2 separate regions of the Homo sapiens genome follow, and region 1 is linked to region 2. Evidence: promoter capture Hi-C in human tissues and cell types (Jung and others, 2019). All regions are on one chromosome and are shown on one strand. Each heading gives the region's core, a stretch centred on a gene start or on the middle of the fragment in contact. The rest is flanking DNA. Distances are from core to core; before and after follow the strand shown. Region 1 overlaps ACOT7 (acyl-CoA thioesterase 7). Region 2 holds the start of ICMT (isoprenylcysteine carboxyl methyltransferase).

Region 1 (4,268 bases), core at 1,449-3,948, 140 kb before region 2:
TAAGATGGAGTTTAGCTTTTGTTGCCCAGGCTGGAGTGCAATGGCACGATCTCGGCTCACTGCAACCTCTCCCTCCTGGATTCAAGCGATTCTCCTGCCTCAGCCTCCTGAAGGGCTGGGATTACAGGCGCCTGCCACTGTGCCCAGCTAATTTTTGTATTTTTAGTAGAGACGGGGTTTCACCATGTTGGTCAGGCTGGTCTCAAACTCCTGGCCTCAGGTGATCCACCCACCTTGGCCTCTCAAAGTGCTGGGATTATAGGCGTGAGCCACTGCTCCCAGCCAGGTCCTGCCTTCTTTACAAATTGAAAGTTTGGGGCAGGCGTGGTGGCTCAGGCCTGTAATCTCAGCACTTTGGGAGGCCGAGGCAGGCGGATCACCTGAGGTCAGGAGTTCGAGACCAGCCTGGCCAACATGGCGAAACCCCATCTCTACTAAAAATATAAAAAATTAGCTGGGTGTGGTGGCATGTGCCGTAGTCACAGCTACATGGGAAGCTGAGGCAGGAGAATCACTTGAACCTGGGAGGCAGAGGTTGCAGTGAGCTGGGATCATGCCACTACACTCTAGCCTGGGCAACAGAGCGAGACTCCTTCTCAAAAAAAAAAAAGTTTGTGGCAACCCTGCATTGAGCAAGTCTATTGGCACCATTTTTCGGCCAGCCTGTGCTCATGTAGTGTGTCTATATCATATTTTGGTAATTCTTGCAATATTTCAAACTTTTTCGTTATCATTTTTGTTATGGTGATCTATGACCAGTAATTTTTGGTGTTACTAGTGTAATTGTTTTGAGACATCACGAACCACGTCCATGTAAGACAGCAAATGAAATTGATAAATGTTGTATGTGTTCTGACTGCCCCACTGACCGGCTATTTCCCCATCTCTCTCCCTTTTCGTGAGCTCCCTCATTCCCTGAGACACAACAATTTTGAAATTAGACCAATTAATACCCTACCTCTAGTGTTCCAGTGAAGGAGAGAGTCACACATCTCTCACTTTAAGCCAAAAGCCGGAGGCCAGGCACGGTGGCACATGCCTATAATTCCAGCACTTTGGGAGGCTGAGGCGGTTGGATCACTTGAGGCCAGGAGTTCGAGACCAGCCTGGCCAACATAGTGAAACGCCATCTCTACTAAAAATACAAAAAACTAGCCAGGTGTGTTGACATACGCCTGTAGTCTCAGCTACTCAGAGGATGAGGCAGAAGAACCTCTTGAACCCAGAGGTGGAGGTTGCAGTGAGTCAAGATCGTGCCACTGCACTCCAACCTGGGCGACAGAGCGAGACTCTCAAAAAAAAAAAAAAAAAAGCCAAAAGTTAGACATGATTAAACTTAGGAAGGCATGTTGAAAGCTGAGATAGGCTGAAAGCTAGGCCTCGTGTGCCAAACAGTTAGCCAAGTTGTGAATGCAAAGGAAAAGTCCTTCGAAGGAAATTACAAGTGCTGCTCCAGTGAACACATGAATGATAAGAAAGCAAAACAGCCTTCTTGCTGATAACGGAGAAGAAGAATTTTAGTGATTTGGAGAGAAGATGAAATCAGCCACAACATTCCCTTAAGCCAAAGCCTAATCCAGAGCAAGGCCGTAACTCTCTTCAATTCTATGAAGGCTGAGAGAGGTGAGGAAGCTGCAGAGGAAAAGCGTGAAGCTAACAGAGGTTGGTTCATGAGGTTGAAGGAAAGAAGCCACCTCCATAACATGAAAGTACAAGGTAGAGCAGCAGGTGCTGCTGGAGAAGCTGCAGCAGGTTATCCGAATCTGGCTGAGATCACCGGTGAGGGTGGCTACACAATAGGTTTTTTCTTTTTTTTTTTTTTGACACAGAGTTTTGCTCTGTCGCCCAGGGTGGAGTGCAGTGGTGCAATCTCGGCTCACTGCAACCTCCACCTCTCAGGTTCAAGAGATTCTTCTGCCACAGCCTCCCGAGTAGCTGGGTCTACAGGTGCACGTTACCACACCTGGCTAATTTTTTTATTTTTAGAAGAGACAGGATTTCACTATGTTGGCCAGGCTGGTCTCGAACTCCTGACCTCAAATGATCTGCCTGTCTCAGCCTCCCAAAATGCTGAGATTACAGGCGTGAGCCCCTATGCCCTGCCTAGGTTTTCAGTGTGGGTGAAACAGCTTTCTGTTGAAAGAAGATAACATCTAGGACTTTCATAGCTAGGGAGGAAAAGTCAATGCCTGGCTTCCAAGGACAGGCTAGGTCTGGTGACTCACGCTGTAATCCCAGCACTTTGGGAGGCTGAGGCGGGTGGATCACTTGAGGTCAGGAGTTTGAGACCAGCCTGGCCAACATGGCAAAACCCTGTCTCTACTAAAAATACAAAAATTAGCTGAGTGTGGTGGCACTTGCCTGTAGTCCCAGCTACTCAGGAGGCTGAGGCAGGAGAATCGCTTGAGCCCAGGAAGTAGAGGTTGCAGTGAGCCAAGATTGCACCTGCCACAGCACTCCAGCCTGGGTGACAGAGTGAGATTCTGTCTCAAAAAAAAAAAAAAGGACAGGCTGACTCTCTTGTTAGGGGCTTATACAGCTGGTGACTTTAAGTTGAAGCCAATGCTCATTTACTATTCTGAAAATCCTAGGGCCCTTATGAATTATGCTAAATTTACTCTGCCTGTGTTCTATAAATGGAACAACAAATCCTGGATGTCAGCACATCTGTTTATAGCATAGTTTTCTGAATATTTTTAAGCCTGCCGTTGAGACCTACTGCTCAGAAAAAAGATTTCTTTCAAAATAATACTGATCAGGCCGGGTGCGGTGGCTCACGCCTGTAATCCCAGCACTTTGGGAGGCTGAGGCAAGTGGATCACGAGGTCAGGAGTTCAAGACCAGCCTGGCCAAGATGGCGAAACCCTGTCTCTACTAAAAATATAAAAATTAGCCAGGCGCAGTGGCAGGCGCCTATAATCCCAGCTACTCAGGAGGCTGAGGTAGGAGAATCACTTGAACTCAGGTGGCAGAGGTTGCAGTGAGCCGAGATCGCACCACTGCACTCCAGCCTGGGCAATAGAGTGAGACTCTGTCTCAAAAGAAAAAAAAAAATCAAAATAATACTAATCATTGGCTGTGCGTGGTGACTCATGCCTGTAATCCCAGCACTGTGGGAGGCCAAGGTGGTTGGATTACCTGAGGTCAGGAGCTCGAGACCAGCCTGGCCAACATGGTGAAACCCCATCTCTACTAAAAAATATACAAAAATTAGTTGGGCATGGTGGTGCATGCCTGTAATCCCAGCTACTTGGGAGGCTGAGGCAGGAGAATCACTTGAACCAGGGAGGCGGAGGCTGCAGTGAGCTGAGATCGCACCACTGCACTCCAGGCCAGGTGACAGAACGAGACTCCATTTCAAATAATAATAATAATAATAATAATAATAATAATAATAATAATAATAATACTAACACTGCTCATTGACAATAGACCTGATAAACCAAGAGCTCTGATGGAGATGCACAAGGAGATTAATTTTGTTTTCGTGCCTGCTGGCTTTAGTCCATTTGTGTGGCTGTAAAGGAATGCCCGAAGCTGGGTAATTTATGAAGGAAAGAGCTTTATTTGGCTCATGGTTCTGCAAGCTGTACAGGAAGCATGGCACCAGCATCTTCTTCTGGCGAGGGACTCAGGCCACTTCTACTTACAGCAGAAGGGGAAGGGAAGCTGGTGTGTGCAGGTCACATGGCCAGAGAAGTGAGAGAGAAGGGAGGTGCCAGGCTCCTTTTAACTATTAGTTCTCCCAGAGGCTAATAAAGTGAGAACTCACTCATGACCACGAGGATGGCACCATGCCCTTCCAGAGGGATCCATCCTGTGACCCAAACACTTCCTATTAGGTCCTGCCTCCAACATTGGGATTGAATTTCAACATGAGGTTAGGGATCCTCATATCCAAACCATAGTGGATAATAGCACCTATTAACTCAACATCCATTCTGCAACCTATGGATCAAGGAGTAATCTTGACTTTCAAGTTGTATTGTTTAAGAAATGCATTTTGGGCCTGTAATCCTAACACTTTGGGAGGCTGAGGCAGGTGGATTGCCTTTGTTCAGGAGTTTGAGACTAGCCTGGGCAACATGTTGAAATCCTGTCTCTACAAAAAATACAAAAAATTAGCCGGGCGTGGTGGTGGGCGCCTGTAGTCCAAGATACTTGGGAGGCTGAGGCAGGAGAATGGCATGAACCTGGAAGGCGGAGCTTGCAGTGAGCTGAGATCGTGCCACTGCACTCCAGCCTGGGCGATACAGCGAGACTCCATC
Region 2 (4,041 bases), core at 548-3,047:
GTAATCTATGGGCCGGGCACGGTGGCTCATGCCTATAATCCCAGCAGTTTGGGAGGCCGAGGCGGGTGGATCACCTGAGGTCAGGAGTTTGAAACCAGCCTGGCCAACATGGTAAAGCCCCGTCTCTACTAAAAATACAAAAAAATTAGCTGGCCGTGGTAGTAGGCTCCTGTAATCCCAGCTACTCAGGAGGCTGAGGCAGGAGAATCACTTGAACCCGGAGGCGGAGGTTGCAGTGAGCCGAGATTGCGCCATTGTACTCCAGCCTGGGCAACAAGAGCAAAACTCCATCTGAAAAAAAAAAAGTATCCTGTGTTCATTGTAGGCAGTATGGAAACTGCAAAAACAGATAAAGACAATAAAAATCACCAAGAGTGCCACTACCTAAAGATAGGCCAGGGGTGGTGGCTCATACCTGTAATTCCAGTGCTTTGTGAGGCTGATTGGAGGATCACTTGGGCCCAGGAGTTCCAGACTGCCGCACTCCAGCCTGGCCAACACAGTGAGACCCTGTGTCTAAAAAAGAAAAAAAGAAAAAAAAAAGGTACATATATAGTCGGCGTTATACCATTTTGGCTGATAGCTTGATCATTTTCCCAGGCTCAGATACCTGCCCTTTTTCCCCAAGTGAAGTCAGGATCACACCGAAAAGCTTTGCCTCCTGCTATTTAAAAACCTAATATAGGCAGGGCGCGGTGGCTCACGTCTGTAATCTCAGCACTTTGGGAGGCCGAAGCGGGCGGATCACGAAGTCAGGAGATGGATCCCGGCTAACACGGTGAAACCCCGTCTCTACTAAAAATACAAAAAAATAAGACGGGCGCAGTGGCGGGCGCCTGTAGTCCCAGCTACTCGGGAGGCTGAGACAGGAGAATGGCGTGAACCCGGGAGGCGGAGCTTGCAGTGAGCCGAGATCGCACCACTGCACTCCAGCCTGGGCGACAGAGCGAGACTCCGTCTCAAAAAAAAAAGAAAACCTAACATATCCTGAGCATTCCCATCACCGTCCAGCCTTGTTCCACAACAGGAATTTAAGCGGGCGGTGGTCCCGTTGCATGGATGCCCAGGTGCCGTTGTCCAGGCCGGTTTCCAGGGAGCCGCAGAGGGAGGGCAGGAGGTCGCCGCACTTGGCCCCGCGCCCCAGGGCGTCTGGTTTTCGGGGACGACGCAGGGCCGGCGAGGGTGCGGCCGTTTCAAAATTTTTTTTTTTGAGATGGAGTGTCACTCTGTCACCCAGGCTGGAGTGCAGTGACACAATCTCGGCTCACTGCAACCTCCGTCTCCCCGGATCAAGCGATTCTCCTGCCTCAGCCTCACCAAGTAGCTGGGGTTAAAGGCGTGCGCCACCACGCCCAGCTAATTTTTGTATTTTTAGTATAGACGGCGTTTCCCCATGTTGCCCAGGTTGGTCTCGAACTCCTGACCTCAAATGATTCGCCAGCCTCGGCCTCCCAAAGTGCTGGGATTACAGGCGTGAGCCACCGCGCTCGGCTCGTTTCAAACTTTACATTGCTTCTTGGGACAGGAACCTCCTGAGTTTGGGACTAAGTTTGGACAGACGCGGGCGGCGACTTCTCCCACCACTTCCCGGCCCCCGCCCGGCACAGAGTCTGGCTCAGAGCCCGGATGTCCCCGAGGGGCGGGGAGGGGCGGGCGGGCGGGGCGCTCCCGCCAAATTCCGGACAGCAACAGGGCGGGCCGGAGTTCTCGCGAGAACTGGCAGGCGGCGCGCAGCTGCGGGCAGCTGCCCTTCCCGGGCCGGCATCGGCGGCACAGTGCGCAGGCGCAGCCGGCGCGTTTCTCCGGGCTACAGCCGGCGCCGCCGCCCGCTAGTCCGCCGCCCGGCGCCATGGCGGGCTGCGCGGCGCGGGCTCCGCCGGGCTCTGAGGCGCGTCTCAGCCTCGCCACCTTCCTGCTGGGCGCCTCGGTGCTCGCGCTGCCGCTGCTCACGCGCGCCGGCCTGCAGGGCCGCACCGGGCTGGCGCTCTACGTGGCCGGGCTCAACGCGCTGCTGCTGCTGCTCTATCGGCCGCCTCGCTACCAGGTGCAGGCCGGCGGGGGCCGGCGGGGGCCGGCGGGGCGGGCGGCGGTCCGCTTGGCGCGGCGCGTGGGCACCTTTCTCCCCGGGCCCGCAGTGGCCTCCCACGCGCGCGCTCTTCATCCGCGAGTTCAGGTCGCAGGAGGGGACCCTCTCTCTCCGGGCTCGGGCGCCCTGCACCCGAGGAGTGGGTTGTTAAATTGCAGCTTGTGCAGCTCAGCAGGTGCGCGTGGGGTGGAGTGAGCGAGCCCGCGAGTGCTTTTATGTAACTTAAGGTGCAGAGACCTACCTGCTGCCCTGTCTCAGGTCAAAGGCCCCGCAGTGACGTGGGTGGGGCTGGGCGCACAGGCCCGGGTGCCCTGACCTCATAAACTAGGCTTAAGCAGTTTTCCTACAGCCCTGAATAGTAATCACGAATAATAATAATAATGACAGCTAAAATGTAGGTAGCAGTTAGTCTTAAGTGTTTTACGTGGGTAATCCTTACTGCAGTCCTAAAAGGTAGGTACTGTTATCCCCTGGCTGTAGATGGGGAAGCAAGCTCAGAGAGGTTAAATAATTTGGGAGGCCACACAGCCAGAGAGCGGTGGGTGCAGAATTTGAACCCAGGTCGCCCACTTCTCCCTTTCAACCTCAGCAAATCGGCTCTATCTGCTTGCCTGTGGGTTGCCTATTCCGGGAAGGTCAGCAGCCCAGATCTGTACTCTGAGGACTGTGAATGACTGAGCTTCTCTTGGGTTCCTTTCAGATAGCCATCCGAGCTTGTTTCCTGGGGTTTGTGTTCGGCTGCGGCACGCTGCTAAGTTTTAGCCAGTCTTCTTGGAGTCACTTTGGCTGGTAAGAATTCCTTCGGAAATACTGGTTTTCAGGCGAGGGTGGACAGATCAGAGGGTCTGTAGCGGCATTTCCTCATCCCTGTCTCATCTGTGACCGGCAGAAGGCTGTTCAGGGTTCTCTGGAAACGAAGTCTCCTGGCTTCCCCCTAGTTGCTCACATTTCAGCCCTTGTGATTTCGTGCCTGTGGGTTGATTGTGAATCAGGCAGAAACAGATCTCCCTGGCACCCCCAAAGGTGCTGTCATCCGCAGCTGTGGTGACAGCATTCCGTAACTTGAGCAGCCCTTCCCGGAAGGGGTGCAGGTCCTCGGTGGCGGGCAGGGGCAGGGCTCTGGCTTGTCTTCATGGGCCTTTTTCATCTCTAATTTCTATTAGGTCACATCTAGTGCATCCCCACAGCCACTGTAGGATTTTTCCCTACACTATGATTTCAGTCCCTTGAGCCTTCTAGTCTGACCTGGATATGAACCAGTGGCTTCAAGGTAAAAAGTTTTATCTCCTCTTATCAATATTTTGAGCCATCTAATCCTTCTTTGCCGGAATTATTTCAGTTTTGTTAAATTTTGTATCCGACATACATCACTCCTTTATGTTGTTATCTCCCTCTTTCATGTTTTATTGTGTGTAGTGTCATTTTTAACGGACAGAAGGGCCCATAATGCCTCTGTGACCTATGGGTTTGTTTTGCCTGTGACATTCAAAAACAGTCCCTTGCCGGGCGCGGTGGCTCACGCCTGTAATCCCAGCACTTTAGGAGGCCGAGGTGGGCAGATCACGAGGTCAGGAGTTCAAGACCAGCCTGGCCAAGCCAGGAGTTCGAGACCAGCCTTGCCAACATAGCGAAACCCTGTCTCTACTAAAAATACAAAAATGAACTGGGCGTGGTGGTGGGCACCTGTAGTCTGAGCTACTTGAGAGGCTGAGGCAGGAGAATCGCTTGAACCTGGGAGGCGGAGGTTGCAGTGAGCTGAGATCACGCAGTTGCATTCCAGCCTGGGCGACACAGCGAGACTCTGTCTCAAACAAAACAAAACAAAACACCAGAAACAAAAACAGCCCCTTAAAAACTCCACTTTTTGCAAACCTGAGGTAGTAGATGCTGCAGATGGGTACCTGTGTCCACTCTCAGACAGGTGAGAACAGGGCCTCATAGACTTAGGGACAGCT

The links. Contacts are between HindIII fragments. The study calls those that stand out against the background at their distance.
Region 1: a contact is called between a fragment that was not itself captured here and the fragment with the promoter of ICMT in region 2, in 1 of the 25 tissues and cell types used here (lymphoblastoid cells).

Annotation. Positions count from the first base shown.
Region 1 is chr1:6,369,599-6,373,866 of GRCh38, reverse strand. The region is part of intron 1 of ACOT7 (acyl-CoA thioesterase 7); the gene reads left to right. Among named protein-coding and RNA genes, the nearest start is that of ACOT7, 22 kb to the left of the region's middle. The HindIII fragment of the contact is 6,575 bases long and covers 1-4,268 here.
Region 2 is chr1:6,233,720-6,237,760 of GRCh38, reverse strand. It overlaps ICMT (isoprenylcysteine carboxyl methyltransferase), which reads left to right and starts at 1,797. Exons shown (of 5, transcript NM_012405.4): 1 at 1,797-2,044; 2 at 2,787-2,875. The coding sequence starts at 1,850. ICMT-DT (ICMT divergent transcript) reads right to left here and starts at 1,521. Exons shown (of 5, transcript NR_103534.1): 1 at 1,425-1,521; 2 at 611-795; 3 at 416-516. RefSeq lists an enhancer at 592-1,564 and silencers at 1,529-1,858, 2,069-2,128. The HindIII fragment of the contact is 11,307 bases long and covers 1-4,041 here.